7 separate regions of the Homo sapiens genome follow, and all the other regions are linked to region 1. The links are contacts of gene promoters, found by promoter capture Hi-C in blood cells and fetal thymus (Javierre and others, 2016). All regions are on one chromosome and are shown on one strand. The core of a region is centred on a gene start or on the middle of the fragment in contact, and the rest is flanking DNA. Distances in the headings are between cores, read along the strand shown.

Region 1 (2,743 bases), core at 67-2,566:
CTCCCAGTGACATTTTTACAAAGGAAAAAAAACAATCAATCAGCAAGGAGAAGTAAATATCCCTTGATTACTGAAAGATAATTCATTCTCAAATCAGGTCATATTTCCTTTTCCCCTTTACACCAATTTCAAAACCCATGGCCAAGGCCTGCTTTCAAAGTGCTTACAACTTGCTTTCAACTGCCCACCTTTACGCCTGTCAACCCACAACTTCCTTCCAAAAATCTGCTCTGGTGCCTTAACTTTGTAAAAAGTGTGCACTCCGAAGCCTTTAAACGTTTCTGCATCACAAAAGCTGGGTGGCACCTCTTCCATTTGGCCACAGGCATCTTTTGCCAGCTGTCGCCCTTTTGGCAAAGGAAAATGGGGGCGGCCCTTGCCGCTGTCCAACAGCCCAGACTGGGTGTTACAGGGCAGAGGCAAAATTAAACAAAGGCTAAGGAGCCGGACCCTTAAGAGGCAGGACCTGCGACCCCACTGCTGGCAGCGGTGCCCCTTGCAGGGCGGCCTTGGGCTTCATGCGCCCCGGGCTGCCCCCAAGGACCGCCTGTCCGACTTCCTGCACGCGAGCCCCTGATCTGGAGCGTCTCCCCGAACCCAGACCGCTCAGGAGCCGGACCTCAGCAGCACTTTTGGCCAGGTCCAGGGTTGGCGCCCCCGACCCCAGCGCGGGCGGCTCGGGGCGCCCAGAACCACCAGCCATTGTCCTTTGGTGGCCCCCACTGGGGTCCACTCAGTTGGCCTCGGGCGCCGGCCGCTGCTGGGGACACCTGGGGGAACCGCCTCCCCCGCGGGCCGGGCCGGCGGAAGGCCGCGTGGGCGTGTGTTGGGCGATGGGGGCGGCCTCCAGCCGCCGCGTCGCCGCCTCCCCCACGGCCTGCCCGGGCAGAGGGGAGGGCCCGCTCACCTCGGTAGCGGCGGGAGGCGAGGTGGCACGCTGCGAGCAGCAGCACGGCCACCAGCGCCAGCACCTTGGCGCTCCTCACGCTGAAGTAGTGGTTGATCTCCCGCTTGCCCAGGTTGTAGGCCAGAGCCGCCATCTTGGTTCCTCCATGACAACAGTGCGCGGCGGAGCGGGAAAGGGGCGCCGCACAGGGGCAGCACTGGGGCTGCCGCCGCTGCAGCCAGGCGAGGAGCGGCCGCCAGCTCCCCAGGCCGCCACCTGCGCCTCCCGCCGGGGAACCTGACCCCGCGGCCGCGGCGCCCCCGACCTCCGCCTGCCCCTCCTCGGCCGCGGCCGACTCGGCGGCCTCCCCCCAGCCCCGCCGCCGCTGCTCCGCCGTGCCGGTTCCCCAGGCGCCCTGGACGCCTGTCTCCTCCCCTTCCTCCTCCTCTTTAGCCTCCTGCCTTAATAGCGGCTGCGCCTGCGAGGGGGGTCCGGATGCCCAGTGCTCCGGGGTCACCGGGTCACGCGCCCCGGCGGGCGGCGGCGGCTGCGGCAGAGCCATGGGGGTGTGGGGAGAGAGTACTAGGGGTACCCGCCTGGCCCGGACGCGAGCCTTAGGGCTGTCTCCTAGTTTACTGGCCGCTACCTGAGCCCAGGTTGGGGCAATAGAACTACAGTTCCGGGAGAAAAGTACACATCGTCCCATTCCTTCCTTCCCCAACACTCCCCTTTCTCAGCCTTCTACTGCCAGAACCCGCCCAGCGGGATGCGAAGGACACCCTAAGGTCGTTTATTGTCTGGCTATCCGTGGCCTGGCTGGTCAGTCTGGCTGCCCCTGGGTGCTGGCCAGATTGGATTGATGGATCCAGTTGATGGTGCTGGCCGATGGATTGCTGGCATCCAACCCAGGAGTGAAACCAGTCTTAACACTTAACTCACCGCTCTGGCCAGTTTCTCTTAAACCGTTTTTTTAATGTCCTCAGTTTGCCCAGTTCTGGTGGGCGAAAGTACACCAAAGTTCCGAATGGAAGGTACAGAAGGAGCCTAACTTAGTGTAGGTGTTGATGAGAAAAGAGTCTGACTCTCACTTGTATTTACGCAAGTTTGGCTAGGTCGATGTGCCAAAAAAATTCGTTTTTTTTGAGAGGGAGTCTCACCCTGTCGCCCAAGCTCTAGTGCAGTGGCGTGATCTTCGCTCACTGCAGCCTCCCCCTCCTGGGTTCAAATGGTTGTCCTGCCTGAGCCTGCCGAGTAGCAGAGATTGCAGGCGCCCGCCACCACACCCGTTTAATTTTTGTATTTTAATAGAGACGGGGGTTTCACCATTTTGGTCAGGCTGGTCTCGAACTCCTGACCTCAAATGATCTGCCCATCTCGGCCTCCCAAAGTGCTGGGATTACAGGCATGAGCCACCAAGCCTAGCCAAAAAAAATTTTTCTTAATGTGCTTATGACAATCATCCCCGCTACTAACGTTGGTTAATGTTTTGTGATTCTCAATAAAGCCAGCACTCCATTTCCTTAATAAAGCATTGTTATCCCTACTCTCCTCTCGCTCCCACCCCACCTTTTTTAAATGGTTTTTCTTGTTGCCTTCCAGATGGGAATGGTTATTTACATTGCTTGCCATTCTACTTGCCTTGCCTTGTTTAGAGTGAGTCATTGTTTAGTTGGGGTGTTGTCAAGTATTCTTTACAACTTTCCCATTTAGCCATTCCTGAACTTGTGCTTATAGGCCCCTCTTAAAATTATAGAATATTAGATATGAAGGGACTGTAGAGATCTTGTCTACTCATTCCCATTCTCTTCATCCAAGGACTCTTTATTATGTTTTCATCCATGGACTTTATATCTTGAA
Region 2 (2,743 bases), core at 157-2,656, 980 kb before region 1:
CTGCTGATGCTGATATGTCAAGAGATCAGAATTTGTCCCCCAAAATATAACCACCAATGACCACAGCATGCTAGAAACACAATTAACTGATGAGGCAGATTCATTTTTTACACACTCCCTTCTTCCCACAGCAAAATTTTTCCAGGGCTTCGAAACCTAGAATGTGATTTATTCCTAGTATTTGTCTTTCAAAAGCCCCCCTCTGCTCACCTCTGCAGACTTCAGGCTGCCCTTTTACTATGTGTTTAGACTTCACAAAGGACAGAGGTGAGGGAGAACCGGGGAACCAAGCCCATGGGAGCTAGGGGTGGGAGGTGAAGCAGCGGCTGCCTCCCTCTAATGTAAACCACTCACACGCTACCCCATGTCTAGAGTCTGTGTGCAGTGACAGCTCCTTGCAGAAGAGTTCTGTTTGAATAAGAAGCTCCACTAAGAAGAAAAGAAAAATAGAGATTATTTCCCCTGTGTACAAAACCCACAGGAACTCCCAAATACAGGCCATGCCCATGTGGCTTTGACCATGATACATAATCTGTTTACATAGTTTCACCTTCATAATGTGATTAATTATCTGCATGCCAGAATCTGAACTTAGAGAGGGTCTTGTCAAAGCTTCCATTTTACAAATGAAGATAATTAGTCTGGAAGAGGTTAAGTAGTATAAAGTGTCCATGTTCATATAACAAGTACCCACAGAATCAACTCTAACTCTCAAACTCCATTGCCCCCAAATCTTTAAATAGCCGTCTATGATCCGAAGGCTACATGCAGTTTACCTCCAAACTGATATCACTTGTAGCTAAAAGTTCTAAAGGAATTTGAGAAGTTTTATCCCTGAAAAGAAAATATGCAGACTAATCGTGTGTGTGTGCACGCGTGCGCGTGTGTGTTTAATTTAAATCTGAAACCAAAGAGATATGCCCCAATAGCTGGGTAGAAAGCTGCCTAGAAATATAGCAAGGAGCAAAGTGTTTGGGCCTTCTTTTGGAAGAGGGGATTGGTTCTGCTCCAGCGTTTGGAGAGGATGTACACATTTCTGGTAAACCTTCAGCTAAGCCTGGGCTCTGCAACAGTTATCAACTATAATGTTATCTGAGTCAAAAGAACCCCACACATGAGAAGCCTCTGTTATTACAGCCAAAGGTTACACACACTGCTCGTGGCTGGATTAGCAGACATTTGCTCTGCCTGTGTCCATGTATTTACACAGTCCTGAAGGATTACAGACTGAAGCACAATTCTTGGCTATTTTTTAATAGCTAATATTTTCCAGATAACTCAAAGTTCCCCTGGGAAGGGGGGATAAAAGCAAGTTTGAAGTGTAAAATGTAAAAGAAAAAAGTTTGAACATCGAAGAAAGGAAAAGAACCCTAGGATGGAAATGGGAAAGCAGGAGAGTGAATTTCTGGCAAAGAGGAAAATTAGGTGATAAAGAAATTATTCATTCAGAGAGTGGAAATAAGAGCTTTCACAATATTGGGATATAAGTTGCTACTTAGTAAAGGAAACAGAGTACCTGCCAGAAAGTTTTTTAAGTGAAATCATTCATTGGTTATTTTAATTAAAAATATGACTACCAACCAAGGAATCAGTGGCTATGGGCCATAAACGAAGTACTTAAAGTGCATTACCCTGATTAATAAAAGGACTCTGATTAACCTTGCTGACTAGGGAATTTCATACCAAAGAGATAAGTATGAAATTCTGCCTGTATCATTTATGAGCAAAAGCTCATACATCTGAAGGAAGATCAAGTTGGTAAAGCCTTTGGAAACAGTTTTATGGACAGTCCTTCGTCTTTCCAGTATGGAAGTAACCAGTGAAAACCAATAGAAGGGACATTTGTGTTTTCTTTAAAGATTTCTTCTGTGCTTGACTTCACTCTAAATACTCAGTGGTTGGCTCATAATTAATGTTATATCACTGACATCCCTTGACTTTCAATGACTTATTGCATTTGGCAGTTAGAAAGTCATTCTTTATGTTTTCTTTATATCGTTTTTATTTTAAAGTGATCATCTGGTAAACGCAATTTTGGCTTACTTGTTTTTGCTTTTAAGACCCATTATCTCCGCCATTCCCAGGGAGGTCTCTCAAATGCCAACCAGCACATTTTAAATGTTTGCTTTACAAAATGTGAGAAAAGTTTCTTTAAATTAATAAAACATGATTTCATCTGCAGATTTTATTATGAAGCTTAAAATAACTTAGAAAAGTAAAGTGAGAGCTCTCTAACTTTAAGAATCATGATTAGGTGCTGGAGAAAGACAGGATCCACAGTTTGAACATGAACTCTGGAGGCTGGCTTCTAAATCTGTTCTCTGCCAAATTGGTAAGAGAAGCTATTCAATGAGATGGGCCCAGTGCTACAGAGGAAAGCAGAAATGAGCTTCCAGACTTATTTGTAATCCAATAGCTTTATTCTGTCTTCCTCACAAAATACACATTTCATATTTGCTTATGAGCTAAACTTTTGATTACTGGTGTGCCCAGTAGATTGTAAATTTGGGAAGCACTATTTAGATTTTAGGTGATTTATTTGCCAGCAGAGTTCTGAGTTCCCTTTTCAAAAATTATACACTGACTTTCATATAGGCTTAGATGGACTATATTTAGGGATAAAATTTAGTTACTTCTTAAATCCTATAAAAATGCTGTATGTTCTAAATAAATAAGAATGGTTTAGAATTGATTGTACTACTTTTCACTTTCTATAGGACTATCAAATGTTGAATATAGAATT
Region 3 (2,743 bases), core at 156-2,655, 940 kb before region 1:
AATTGGGCTAGAACAATAAACTCATTCAACCTAATGTGAAGTTGTATTATAAATCTATAGTGATTAAAATAGTGAGCTATTGATACGATAAGTAAAACAGCTCAATACACAAAAGGATAAAGATTCCAGAAACAGATATATATATATCTGTTTCTATATAAGAAAGCCAATTGCAGAATATATAATATATAAGAATATATAAGAAAGCCAATTGCAGAATTATAAATGGCAAATGAATATCCAAAAAGTTACTTAGCTTCACAAGAATTCAGAAGAATGCAAATAAAAAGGAAAATAAAATACTCTTTTTTAATGCAAGTCTGGCAAAATATAAAATTTTTAAATTATATCTACTGGTAAGAATGAGGGGAAGAGGTATTTTCATATTGCTTATGTATTAAATTAGTATAACTACTCTGGAGGGCAATTGGCAGTATAGTCATTGATTAAAATTAATATGTGCACCCCAGCAAATCTAATTCTAAGCATTTATTCTATAGAAACACCTGTACTGTTGTATAAGAAACCACATCCAGGATTATTTATTGAAGAATTATTTATGGTAGCAAAAATTAGAAACAATCTGAATGACTATTCATATAAGAATGTAAACTATAAGATACATCTATAATATTTTATCAGTAAAACAAACTATGGTACACCCATTCAATGAACTATTATGCATCAAAAAATAAAGTACTATTAATACTTTATTATATTTATATATTATATTAATAAAGTACTTTAATAATACTATTTAATCAAAGAACAAAGTACCATTAAAGTACTTTGTACCATTAAGTAAATTACCAAATACGTTTTAACACTTAGTATTAGTATTTTAAAGTACTATTAAAGTACTTTGTACTATTAAGTACAAACAAAGTACTATTATGCATCAAAGAATAAAGTACTAATAAAGAATTAGAACCAACAAGGATAGTATGCATACGTGACCACCTGCTCAGAGATAATACTTAAATATTTGTAACAGTTTTATATGGTCTTAATGATAGACAGTATTGATAGACAGTATAATAAAAGAGTTCAGGTAGGTTTTATGCAAGTTCAAAAGTCTTAATGGTTACATGGAAATACATTTACTTAAAATTTTTTTTTGAAACAGGGTCTCACTCTGTCACCCAGGCTAATGTGCAGTGGTACAATCATGGCTCACTGCAGCCTCCACCTCCCAAGGTCCAAGCAATCTTCCTACCTTGGCCTCCTGAGTAGCTGGGACTGCAGGTGTGCACCACCATACCCAGCTAATTTTTAAATTATTTGTAGAGATGGCGTTTCCTGTGTTGCCCAGGCTGTTCTCAAACTTCTGAACTTTAGTGATCCTCCTACCTTGGCCTCCCATGCACTGGCATTATAGGTGTGAGCCACTGCTCCTGGCCAGATTTTCTTATTTTAGCCATAGAAACACAAAATTTAATCAAGTGATGTTGCCAACTGGGTGAGGAGTTCACATTCTAATCTGATTTAAATTATGAGTAACTGTAATGATCAATTTTATATGTCAACTTGGTTAGGCCAGTATGCTCAGATAGTTGGTCAAATGTTATTCTGGATGTTTCTGTGAAGGCGTTTTTTGGATAAGATTAACACTGAAATTCGTGGAGTTTACGTAAAGCAAATTACTCTTCATAATGTAGGTAGGCCTCATCCAATCAACTGAAGGTCTTAATAGAACAAAGACTGACCTTTCCCAAGGGAGAAGGAATGCTGATAGTAGACTGCCTTTAGATTGAGACAGTACCTCTTCCCTGAGTCGCCAGCGTGCAAGCCTTCCTTGCAGATTTCGGACTTACAAAGCCTCTGTAATTGCATGAGCAAGGTCTTCAAAATAAACCTCTCTTTCTATGTATAAATACTCTGTTACTTCTGTTTCTCTAGATAACCCAATGCAGTGATGATATGGCTAAAATCCAGGGATGTAAGATAGGTATGTGGCTAGCTCACTCTTGAGATTGGTGCATATCATCATGGTCACAGTGGTTCACTCATATAACAGTTTATATCCTCTGTTTGCTAGGAAACACCATCAAGCAAAGAAAGCAACCTCAAAATTATATAGCAAAATAAGCTCAAAAATCATGTGAGATAACGTAAGTTTTCTTTAGTAGGTAAGCATTTTTCAACCCCAAGAATATTTGAAATTAAGTATATAAATGTCAAGATAAATCTGTATTATCAACAATTTAGTATTAAGAATTTTACACATATTTATTGTCTATATACCTGTAATAATTTAGATTTGGTCTAGTAGAAGAATAGCTTATTTGAACAACAGTCTTGTGATTCTAATTTTAAATGTATTATTAAGTAATTTATTTAGACTTGTGAGTTTAATTTAGTATCATTTCTTTATAAACATTAATGGAGCGGAACATTAAGAAAACTTAAGAATCACCTCTTTGGCCAGGCTTGGAGGCTCATACCTGTAATCTCAGCACATTGGGAGGTTAAGATAAGAGAATGACTTGATCCCAGGAGTTCCAGACCAGCCTGGGCAATATAGTGAGACCTCGTCTCTACAAATATAAAAAAATTAGCCAGGCCTGGTGACACATGCCTGTAGTCCCACCTACTCGGGAGACTGAGGTGGGAGGACTACTTGATTTTTTGAGCTCAGGAAGTCGAGGCTACAGTGAACCATGATTGCACCACTGTACTTCAGCCTGGGCAACAGAGAGAAAGACCTTGTTTAAAAAAAAGAAAAGAATCAATTTATTTGATA
Region 4 (2,743 bases), core at 154-2,653, 920 kb before region 1:
TGCTTTGTATCTACATCTGTTTCTGGAGTCATATAACATTTGTAGAATCTTGGAGGTGTTTTAGGCTCATCCTTATTTTATCCATAAAGAAGACTGACACCTATAGAGATTAACTGACCTGCCAAGGGTCATGGCAGTTTCACTGCTGAGACAAGAACACAGATCCCTTTACTTCTTTCTGAGAAAAGTACAAAGTAGTTTAAAGCAAAAGCTTCCCTGCTTCCAGCACTTCTGGCTAAGTTGCGCCGTGGGAAAATTGTTTTGTCTGATTCAGTTTTCTCATCTTTTAAACTGGAATAATGCTACCTAATTTACAGGGTTGTTTGAAGAATTAAATGAATGCATGGAGGTAAATCACTTAGAACAGCGGTAAATTATACTTTTTTATTATTTATTTCCTTTGACCACCCACAATTATCATCAGTGTCATCCTCATCATCACAATTAAGATTACTACCACATTAGGCTACATAAACTTTTTTTTTCTCTCTCTGTTTTATAATTTCAATTTTATTTTAGATTCAAGGGGTACATGTGCAGGTTTTACATGGGTATATTGTCTGATGCTGAGGTTTGGGGAACAACTGATGCCATCACCCAGGTAGTGAGTATAGTACCCTATAGTTTTTCAGCCCTTGTCTACTCCCTTCCCTTCCCCTTCTAGTAGTCCCCAGTGTCTACCATCGTCATCTTTATGTCCATGTGCACCATTGTTTAGCTCCCAGTTAAAGTGAGAACATGCAGTATTTGGTTTTCTAGCTTATTTTTCCTCTCTTAAATCACTTCTGTGACACGTAGGCCATGAGATTTATTGTATTTTTTAATGCCTTATTTAAAAATTTGTATTATTTAATACATTTAATGCATTATTTTTTATTATATTTAAATATTGATTTATTTGTACTTTTTGCCTTATTGCTATATTGTTTCAAAAAATTTAACATTATTTGAGTTACATGATTTCAAATACATACTGATTAACATTTTAATTAGAAACTTTATGTCTGATATGAATTGCCAAAATGTGTAGTTGGTACAACCTATGAGTCATTCTGGGTTATCTAGAAGAAACTGGTAGCCTGCCCCATACTCCAGAAGCCTTCCCCAGTGTCTAGACCTCAGAAGCTGTCAGGAATATGCACAGGAGAAGGACACATGGCAAATAGCTATTTCGTCTCTTAAATGTATGGTATGTGGGAACCACTGAAAAATGTAAAGTTTCTACAAGGTGCTATTTTTATTATTTATGGCTCTAGAGAACAGAGAAGGTGAAAAATGTGAGAGAGAAGGGAAAGCCAATAGTATGTGGCCTTCAAAACAAAAGATCCCACAGATATTGTCCCAAACTGCTTCCTGGCCCTCTAGAGTGGAGAGGGAGGGGGAAGACATCCTATTAGAGTTCAACATTCTCTTATTATTTCCTTCTTTTAATTTTCTGGGTATACAACAGCAAATAGTTTTGCTGAAGTAGTTACAGAACTAGTTGGTGTTCTCCAACCTTCCTATTCCAATACATACTGTCATGGATGGGTACACTAAAATCTCAGAATTCACTGCTATATCACTCATCCATGTAACCAAAAACCACATGTACCCCCAAAAGCTATTGAAATAAGATAAATACATTCTTATTTAAAAAAATACTGTCATAGGGATGCTACCTTCTTTTCTTTTTTGTTAGTAACTATTTGTGGGATGTCTTTGGTGTGTCAGGCTCTGAGCAATGCCATTTTCTCTTGGCTTCTTTGCAGTCTCTGTGTGAGGCTTACAGTCATTTTTCACGTTTGACTCTTCAGAAGGAAGACAGGGCTACTGGTTCTACATCTGGAACTCTTTTCCCACAACACCAACACTGAGAAATGTGACATGGTGCTGTGTTTACATTTGCATAGGAACTTGCATTATAAGTTTTATTTGTTGAGTTATTGGCTTTTTTTTTTTAATAACCCACATCAGTATATAGAACTTTGCAATAGGCATTTTTGTTTTAACTTCATTTCTGGTGCAGTTTTATTTTCCTACCCTTGTCTTTCTATTTTCTCTTTCATCTGCTTTAGACTTAAACTGTGTTTTATGTATTGCTGTAAGCCTCTTTAAACCCTTTCTAAAACAAAGCAGGGAATACATAAACAAATAGTTTTTTGTTTTTTGTTTTTTTTTCTTTGTAACAGAAATCGACTTAAAGCCTCCAGAGAAGTAGAATCTGTAGACCTTCCACACTGCCACCTGATTAAAGGAATTGGTATGTATATGAAAATGCTTGTTGGGCACATTGCATTTTTTGGCCATTAACATTAAAACACTCATTAATGGCATTTTAGCATGAAATTACTGCTTTTCAGTGGATAAATCACATTAGATCAACAAAAACCTCTTTGGTCAACCTCTTGATCTGATGAACCCTGTATTTATTCTTCTTTCCTACCCTCACTGTAAATTATTCTTTTTTGTGTGTAATTCTATGTTTAGCATTTGATTTCTTGCTTGTTTTGTGACTTCTCTGAACTATTTTTGTTGCGTCTGTATTGTTTGTCAGGTATGGCCGCTGCAGTCTGTGTTCTGTGAGCCTTGTGGTCAGCTAGTGAAGGAAGCTTTATGTAGGCAGTGACAGCATTTACCCTGCTCACTACTCTATAACTAGGATCTGATCTTATGGCTAACACGTAACTGACCAATATGGTTTGGTTGTGTCCCCACCCGAATCTCATCTTGAATTGTAGTTCCCATAATCCCCACGTGTTGT
Region 5 (2,743 bases), core at 179-2,678, 900 kb before region 1:
AAAGAACTCATTGTTTTAAACATTCCTTCCTCTTCTTGCTCCTGTGATTCTGCTCTTGTGCTTGCTTCTGCCTGGGAAGTGCCTCCTCCGTCCTCATCTCAAATCTCATCTCTCTTTACACAGCCACTGCAGATGCCCCTTCCTTGGTGAGCCTTTCTGTGTCCTCGGAAGTTAGCTATTTCTAGACCTGAACTATTTCTCATGCTTATTAGGTGTTTAATGTGTACAAACCAGTGAGATTTGTTCCAACACACTATAAACTTTCAAGGAGAGAGGCTGTGTCTTCTTCATGTTTATATCTGCTGCAACACTGAGTTCATGGCTTTTCACACATAATTGCTCAACAGAGCAGGTGCCATGGAAAGTCAATTCAATGAGTAAAATTACCTCAAAATAGTCTGTTAATTCACTCACCTTTGAAGTAGACAGATTATTCTGCATTGATACTTATCTCTTACTCTTAAAATTCGCTATGTATTAATAAATATTTTATTGAATATTAAGGAATGATCACTATTTTAATAAGATGTTCTTTACCATATATTTCTATATGTACATGATAATTAGAAGTATCAAATTATATTGTGGAATGTAAAAGCTTTTCTTCTGAAGCCAAGCATTTGTTTTATTGTCATTTCAGTGGCAAATATGGACTTCATATTCAAAATGATGTTCTATATTATTTTTCCTTACAAGCTTTTTGAAAAACAATTTAATAATTCCATGATTGTTGTAGCACCACTGAATTGATTCTGAAAGCTTACTTTTTAAATAAAAATTGACCTTTATCAAGCATTCCTTGAGGGCCCATGATTGATTAACTTCTTGGCAGGTTATTAAGACTTATTCTTTCACACTGTATTAATGAAGCTTTATATTGGCATGGAGCTCTAACCACTGTGTCCTTTCTGCAAAGGTATATCTATGTTGCTGACATATTGGCTCATGAAATTCATGTTTTGGAAAAACACACTAATATGAATTTAACTCAGTTGAAGGTAAAATATTTATTTTTACATATAGACAGTAATCTATTATGCTTTGCAATGACATAGTTTTTCTATAAGAGTACCACACGTAGAACAAAATATGGATGCCAGTGTAGCTATTCTGGGTTTTTAAATACTCCCTACAACTAGAGAAAGCTCCTGTTTCCAGCGATCTCAAGAACTGACCATGATTACATGCAGCAGCAGGTTGAGAGTGATATTCATCAGATTTAGGGCCCATTCCATGAAGTATTGATGGCAGTGGAAGAATTCCAATAAGAATTTTCACAATTGAAAATACTAATAGATGAATTCTCAAATGAAGGTTTATGCACAGTGTCAGTTCTTTCAATAATACATGAAGGTAGAAATTGGGTTCCACACCATTATTATTTTCTTCCTACTCAACAACACATATTTTAGGTTGATTAAGAATTTCCTATCTTGCTTTGATTGAGTTCCTTGAGCTAACTGATCATTGTGCATCTTTTAAAGGAAAAGGAGTTCAGTTTTTAAGATAGATTTTTACAGAGACCGATTATCACCCTAACTTTCTTAATTTCAGGGAAGAAGAAAAGTGGCTCCAAACCAGTTTTTAATACATTCCTTTTAAGCAATATTGGTGTTAGAAGGTGGAAGCAGGGCGATGTGTAATTTCCTCACATGCATAGAGGCAGGAAGGTTACCTCTAAATTATTTAATCAAGTTTCTCATGTCATTTAGATTTTGACAATTTCTCATTTGGAAGGTACTTGAGCTGGATACACTGGTGGATAATTTATCTATTGATCCTTCCTCGGGGGACATCTGGGTAGGCTGTCATCCTAATGGCCAGAAGCTCTTCGTGTATGACCCGAACAATCCTCCCTCGTCAGAGGTTTTTATATTTTCAGTTTTTTAAACTTAATTATTCAAGTCCTTTTGAACTAATAATACAATAAATTGTCACAGGGATGATTTGTTTAGTTATTTTAAAGCAATAATATAATAAGCTTATGTCGTGGTTTTGTAATTGCGTTAAGCCAATAATTGGCAGAATGTTACATTGTTCAAATACTTTAAGAAAGGTAATCTTTTGATGTATTAAATTATGGTGGAAACTAGTCAAAAGGCATTTTTATAAAGACATGTGCCCTTCTTGGGTGGTATACTGGCAATTTTTAAAATATCTGATTTATTGTCAGCTCACCACATGATGTGATATTTGTTCATGTTGAAGTAGTGTGAAAGTAGGCACATTAGTATGAAAGTATTTCTATTAAAGCTGAATTGCTATAATAACACTAAATCCTGTGTTGGCATGGAATAACTAGATGGTTTTAAGAAAGTACTTTCTTTGAAGATTGGAGAAAGTACTTTAATTTAAACATTAAAAAGATTGGTAACTGCTATTTTCAACAGCATGTCCCCTTAATCAGTGTGTCATTGTGGAAAACAGGGCTTATTGATGATTGAGTGACATGCATGTACGGTGGTCTTATATTCATACTTTGTATCCCCTGAATAGGTTCTCCGCATCCAGAACATTCTATCTGAGAAGCCTACAGTGACTACAGTTTATGCCAACAATGGGTCTGTTCTCCAAGGAAGTTCTGTAGCCTCAGTGTATGATGGGAAGCTGCTCATAGGCACTTTATACCACAGAGCCTTGTATTGTGAACTCTAAATTGTACTTTTGGCATGAAAGTGCGATAACTTAACAATTAATTTTCTATGAATTGCTAATTCTGAGGGAATTTAACCAGCAACATTGA
Region 6 (2,743 bases), core at 171-2,670, 820 kb before region 1:
ATATGGTGTATAAACCTTACTTGATTATGATATTATTATGTTTTTATAATTGTGGACTTACTTGACTAATATTTTAAGATATTAATGTCCATGTTCATAATAAAGATTGGCCTGTAATTTTAATTTCCCTTTTTTGTAATTAATTGTCAGGTTTTAGTATCAAGGTTATATTCACCTGGTGAAAGACTTGAGAGTTATTTCTTCTTTTTTTATTCTCCAAAAGTTAGTGTAAAATTTAGCATTTTTTCTTCCTTAAGTGTTTGGAATAATTCACTTATGAAGCTACCTGGGACTAAAGATTTCTTTAAGGGGGATTTTAAAGTATAGATTACATTTATTTAAAGAATATAGAAATATTACAATTAAATGTTTCTGCTTGTGTATGCTTTGATAAATTTAGCAATTCATTCTTTTCATTTAAATTTGCAGATTTAGTGGAATAAAGTAGTTCATAATATCCTTTTGTTACATATTTAGGATCTGCGGTAATATCCTCTTTATTTCTCACATTTAGAATTTGTTTTCTTTCTCATTTTCTTTCTGTCAGTCTTACCACAGTTTTATATCTTTCATTAGTCTTTTCAATAATCAACTTTTGAATGTTTTGTCCTAAGTTTTTATTGTAGTAAATTTCACATAGTATAAAATTCATCATTTAACCATTCAATGACATACAATTCAATGGCATTAAGTATGTTCACAATATTGTTCAACCATCACCATGATCTTGCGCCAGAATATTTTTCACCATCTCAGAAGGAAACCTATGTGCATTAAGTAGTTATTCCCCATCCTCCTCTCCCCTGCAGTTCCTGACAACTACTAATCTGCTTTCTGTCTTTATGGATTTGCCTTTTCTGGCTATTTCATGTAAATGGAATCCTATAATATGCTGCCTTTTGTGTTTGGCTTCTTTCACTTAGCATAATGATTTCAAGGTGCATCTATGTTGTGGCATGTATTAGGACTTTATTCTTTTTTTATAACTGAATGACACTTCATACAATGGATAGTCTCTCTTCAAGTTTGTTTTTTATTTCATTGATTGCTGATTTTATCTTCATTTCCATCCTTCTCCTTTCTTTGGATTTTTAAGCTTTTTGAGATGTGTGCTTAGACAATTGAAGTGAAGTGACATAGTTCTGTTAGCTTTCCCTTTTCGTACTTTCAGTTTCTGTTTTTAGGTGCACGTCAGTTTTGGTTTGCCCATATCTAGACATACAAACTTAGGGCTCCTACACTTCCTAATTGGATGACTTTGTATGAATGGGGATAATCGTATTGATCCTATCTCCTTGTCCAGGGTCTTGTGAGAGAATGTAAGGTAAAAGCATTTTGTAAACTAACTTCCAGACTTGGATAGTACCTTGTACTTTGCACTGCCATTGCTTTATATCTGCATAGTGCTTTCACAGGTTTTTAAAAATTTAATACAGCAAACCCACAGGAATTATCTCCATTTTACAGATGTTATTTCTGCTACTATAGAATTTTCAGGAAGTGACCATGAATTTAGTATTTAAAGCCCAGGGTTTTTGGGTTTTTTTTTCTTCCAGCTTTACTATAGCTGCCTCATGCAGAATGGTATTATTGGCATTCTTAGAACATTGGAATTTCACACTTTCAGAAACTTGAGAACATTGCAACAACTGCCAACAGGGCTCAGCATCCTCTGCAGATGAACAACACCAAGTGGTATAGTTACCCAATCAATCCTTTTGCACTTCTACAAAATTAAGCTTGGCAAACTTGGCTCTGGCTTTCTACCAATTCATTGACAGTTTTTACTGACTACTCCGTGAATTAGGCTTTTTGTGGGAAAATAAAAGAATGGGTTGATGTGATTGTTACCAAATATATTTAGGAAGAAGTATTTGAACATGTGCAAATAAATACTTAGCACATGAGGATCAAGGGAGGAAAGGAAAGGGATTCTAATAGTCAAGGTGAGATCTGAGTTTTTAAAGAAGTTTGCTTTTTAAATGTTTGGTTATACATTTCTGGTGATAAAAAAATTCTAAGTTTAAAACACCTTCATAACTTCTCATAACATTTAAAATCTTCACATAGCATGGACTCATACTCTTGTCTGCACATTTTAACATGTGTGAAATAGGAAATTATTGTATAATTAATAGTTTCTTAGAATTGTGTTGTAGATTAATTATAGTTTTTCTTTTTTAGTAGTACATAAAATAAAAGAATAATAGATAGTTATGTATTTAACACTGATGGCATTACAGTAAATAAAATATGGAACATTAAAGTATTCCAGAGGATTCTGTAATAACTTTTAAACATTCATTCATTCATTCATGTATTCAACAATATTTATTGAGCACCTAGATTTTGTTAGGTGCTGTACCAGGCGTTAGAGCTATAACAACAAGCAAGGCATTTTTATACAGGCTTCTGGTCTAGTGAGAAAAACAGTACCGTGATAAAGTATTAACAATACAGAGTGGCAGGAATAATAAAGAAGCAGCATGGTGCAATGAGACATATGAGAATGGTATCCAAGATTTAGACATCAGGAAAAACTAGTAGAAATAAATTGCAAACAGGTGCCTGAAGGAGCAGGTAGGATTTGATCATGTTAAGAATGGGGACTAGTATTCATACCCTCGTGTAATTCCTTCACCTTGAGAGAACAGAATGAATACAACATGGAAAAAATGATATGTCACTTTGAAAATTAGGTTACAAAGAGATGGTGACTTCCATCTGGCTTGTTAAAATGAGA
Region 7 (2,743 bases), core at 108-2,607, 730 kb before region 1:
TATAGGAAAGCAGAATGAATTGTGTAAATTCACATTATTCAGAATGGACAAGATTTTCTTAGTACACATGAGGCCTAAAATTAAAAATATGCGATTATTTTAATTCTGTATGTACATTAAGAGAATTTCTACAAATCCATCACTTTTGACAAGAAAAGCATCAAAATACACTAACTGAACCCTTTTTGTTTTATATAGTATGGACCTGTGTCTAGTGAGCTTACCTTGGAAGGCTATTAGGTGCCAAAGCCAGGTTTTAGAAATCCCAGCCCATGGTTCTTTCCACTAATACTAAATTTCTTACATTTGTAGGCCCCTTTATTTTTAATCATCTCCCTTTATCATTGCAAATGACTGGGGGAGGCAGGGCAGGTGTTGTGAACCTCATGGTTCAGATGAGGAAAGAGGCTCAGGGAAGTCACACACCTTTTCAAGTTCCCACTAGAAACAGGTGATGGAGCGGAAACAAAACCAGATTTGACTCTTCCTACCTCTGTTCCTCCCTTAACCATGTATCTAACTGAACCAGTTGCTTTGGGATATATTTTTCATTTAATCTTCCCCCAAACCCCAAGCCATATGTCATCATCATAACCTCTCAGATGAGAAGTTATTACTCCAACTGGAAACCATGGATCACTTCTGGTAGTCTCTGAGCATTCTGACAGTGAATGCAAAATGGTGCTCAATCAGCTGCTGTTATTATTAATGAAGCTTAGAAAGCAGACCTCCACCTCCCTTAATAATCAATTGGCCTTTAGTGACTGAGACTACGTGCTAGGTACTATGCTAATCACTGAGGATACATGAACATGACATAGAATCTACTTTCAAGATACTTCAGGGAGATTAATAAAAACACCTTGTAAGAATTCTCCAGATCACCCTGTGAGAAAGGTCAGAGGCAACCTGCTGCTGGATGGCTTGTTTAGTCTTTTGTTCCTATAGCCAGATCAGATGTCATGTGTCTTTGGCCTGTTTGTCCAGACGTGGACCCTACTTTCCAAGCAAAGTGAGCAAGATGGACCCAAGTTATCTCCATTTCATGAGGAAAAGAAAATTGCTTTTCACAGGGGTGAAGGACCTCGACAAATGAAGCATAGTTGGTAAAAGGTTGAGTTTTCTTATTCTAGAGCAGTTCCCTTTCCACATGTTTAAGAGATTTATGTCAAGAATCAATAACCTTTTCAAAGTACAGGTCCAAGAGTTTGCAAGAATGGTCAGGCACGCTGACTGCAGGGATAGAAGGTTAACAGGGCTGGTTAATAGAAATAGAGCCTGAGATGCCTGTTGGAGTTTTTGGGCTTCAGAGAAGCTAGGTTTGGAGAAAAGAGTTGGGATTAGGAGGGCATAAATAAAAAGAAAAGGTTAAGGACTGCAGGTAAAAGTCTTTTAACTTACAAGACCATCATTTTCATCTCTTCAGTCATCTTTAATATGAAAGCCATAGATATGCACCTCAGGATTTCAGCACAAATAAACATACACATTCCTATGAGAACAGGAGCTTTCATTTAACATTCTGAAGGTGTACCTGCTGTGTATAATTTTTTTTTCAAAAAGATGAATACAGAACATGCACTCATATTACCGGATCGATATAATCCAAATATAACTGTGCTAGAAATAGAAACATCCTTTACACAGAAACTTAAATAGTGAGACTGAACTTTTGCCCTCTCTCTACTTATCCTGTGAGAGCATGGAAACATTTTTCTTTAAAAAGTGAAAAATATCTTTGCAGGAAATGTTTTAAGAGAGCTCTAGTTCTAGAAATATTACAATCAGATAAGGGCAACATTTTCTGCTGTTGCTTTACAAAAGCAAATCAATAACTAATATTTGCATAGAACTTTATAAAGTGCTTTCTAGATTGGGATCTAAATTTTTAGTTATCTTTGTGAGTATTTGAGTGATGTATGTCTTACCTACAACAATATAGCTTCACAAAAGAAATCAAAGCTGTTTTTAACTACATTTTGGTGTTAAGATGAAGCTTTGCCATATTTCTTTGTAATTTCTGCTGAAAAGTTTACATATGGTATCTATCCAGTATTAACGAAAGTGTTTTACTTAGGGAATCATGTATGCAAAATGAACTAAAACTGGCTGACTGAACAATATCACAATCTAATCTGAATGGTAACACTAATGGCAGCATATGTAGCATTGGGTGAGATTCTCTAACAAGGTCACTCCCTAAGTAGGTACTCATAAACTTGTTATTAATGATGCTGCTGCTGGATGTAGTTGATGGCCTGTAATTACAGCTCTTTTTTAAATAAGTAACTGTTTGCTATTAAGTAGGCAGCAATTTATAGCTTCCCTACATGGTAGTGGAAACTTCCATAAAGATAACTTAATGTTATTATCCCATGCATTTTATAACTTTTCTAGATTCTTTTTCATAGAATTAAATAAATAAAATAAACCAACTTTTAGACTCCATTTTTTCTTCAAGAGAAATGTCGAATTTTTTTAATTGTTGCAATTGCTGTGACTCCTGAGGAGGAATGGCAAGGGAGAAATTGGACAGTCACTTTAAATGGTACCTGGCTAACAGTTCCTGAGCCAGCCTCGCCGTACCTTCCATTAAACTGCCAGTGTAATCACATTAAAAACAAAAAAACTCACAATCAAAAATGAACACCACAACTAAAAACAACAGTTCATAGAATATAAAAGAGTCATGAAGTTGAATTAAGAAAAATCTATCCAAGATCCCCTCTGACATCAGGGAGAC

The links. The method cuts DNA at HindIII sites, captures the fragments that hold promoters and counts their contacts. A CHiCAGO score of 5 or more calls a contact.
Region 2: a fragment that was not itself captured here is called in contact with the fragment with the promoter of CASD1 in region 1 in 5 of 17 cell types (total CD8 T cells, total CD4 T cells, total B cells and 2 more); the score reaches 8.6 in total CD8 T cells.
Region 3: a contact is called between a fragment that was not itself captured here and the fragment with the promoter of CASD1 in region 1, in 3 of 17 cell types (naive CD8 T cells, fetal thymus and non-activated CD4 T cells). The highest score is 7.3, in naive CD8 T cells.
Region 4: a fragment that was not itself captured here is called in contact with the fragment with the promoter of CASD1 in region 1 in 2 of 17 cell types (naive CD8 T cells and M2 macrophages); the score reaches 12.7 in naive CD8 T cells.
Region 5: a fragment that was not itself captured here is called in contact with the fragment with the promoter of CASD1 in region 1 in 1 of 17 cell types (M2 macrophages); the score reaches 5.2 in M2 macrophages.
Region 6: a fragment that was not itself captured here is called in contact with the fragment with the promoter of CASD1 in region 1 in 6 of 17 cell types (total CD8 T cells, fetal thymus, naive CD8 T cells and 3 more); the score reaches 7.0 in total CD8 T cells.
Region 7: a contact is called between a fragment that was not itself captured here and the fragment with the promoter of CASD1 in region 1, in 3 of 17 cell types (M0 macrophages, M1 macrophages and M2 macrophages). The highest score is 5.8, in M0 macrophages.

The regions. Positions count from the first base shown.
Region 1 is chr7:94,508,382-94,511,124 of GRCh38, reverse strand. It overlaps CASD1 (CAS1 domain sialic acid O acetyltransferase 1), which reads right to left and starts at 1,316. Exons shown (of 18, transcript NM_022900.5): 1 at 908-1,316. The coding sequence starts at 1,040. RefSeq lists silencers at 653-1,012, 1,113-1,262, 1,303-1,522 and enhancers at 56-1,042, 1,043-2,031. The HindIII fragment of the contact is 8,005 bases long and covers 1-2,743 here.
Region 2 is chr7:95,488,953-95,491,695 of GRCh38, reverse strand. All of the region lies in intron 1 of ASB4 (ankyrin repeat and SOCS box containing 4), which reads right to left. Among named protein-coding and RNA genes, the nearest start is that of ASB4, 4.4 kb to the right of the region's middle. The HindIII fragment of the contact is 1,584 bases long and covers 615-2,198 here.
Region 3 is chr7:95,445,944-95,448,686 of GRCh38, reverse strand. No RefSeq gene overlaps it. Among named protein-coding and RNA genes, the nearest start is that of PON2, 12 kb to the right of the region's middle. The HindIII fragment of the contact is 5,753 bases long and covers 1-2,743 here.
Region 4 is chr7:95,424,014-95,426,756 of GRCh38, reverse strand. PON2 (paraoxonase 2) reads left to right here. Exons shown (of 9, transcript NM_000305.3): 2 at 2,172-2,242. Among named protein-coding and RNA genes, the nearest start is that of PON2, 9.6 kb to the left of the region's middle. The HindIII fragment of the contact is 2,380 bases long and covers 214-2,593 here.
Region 5 is chr7:95,405,242-95,407,984 of GRCh38, reverse strand. It overlaps PON2 (paraoxonase 2), which reads left to right. Exons shown (of 9, transcript NM_000305.3): 7 at 917-998; 8 at 1,738-1,866; 9 at 2,497-2,743. The coding sequence ends at 2,655. The region is part of intron 1 of LOC107986822 (a long non-coding RNA gene); the gene reads right to left. Among named protein-coding and RNA genes, the nearest start is that of PON3, 10 kb to the right of the region's middle. The HindIII fragment of the contact is 1,111 bases long and covers 873-1,983 here.
Region 6 is chr7:95,329,300-95,332,042 of GRCh38, reverse strand. No RefSeq gene overlaps it. Among named protein-coding and RNA genes, the nearest start is that of PON1, 6.1 kb to the right of the region's middle. The HindIII fragment of the contact is 643 bases long and covers 1,099-1,741 here.
Region 7 is chr7:95,241,409-95,244,151 of GRCh38, reverse strand. All of the region lies in intron 8 of PPP1R9A (protein phosphatase 1 regulatory subunit 9A), which reads right to left. Among named protein-coding and RNA genes, the nearest start is that of PPP1R9A-AS1, 28 kb to the right of the region's middle. The HindIII fragment of the contact is 1,282 bases long and covers 717-1,998 here.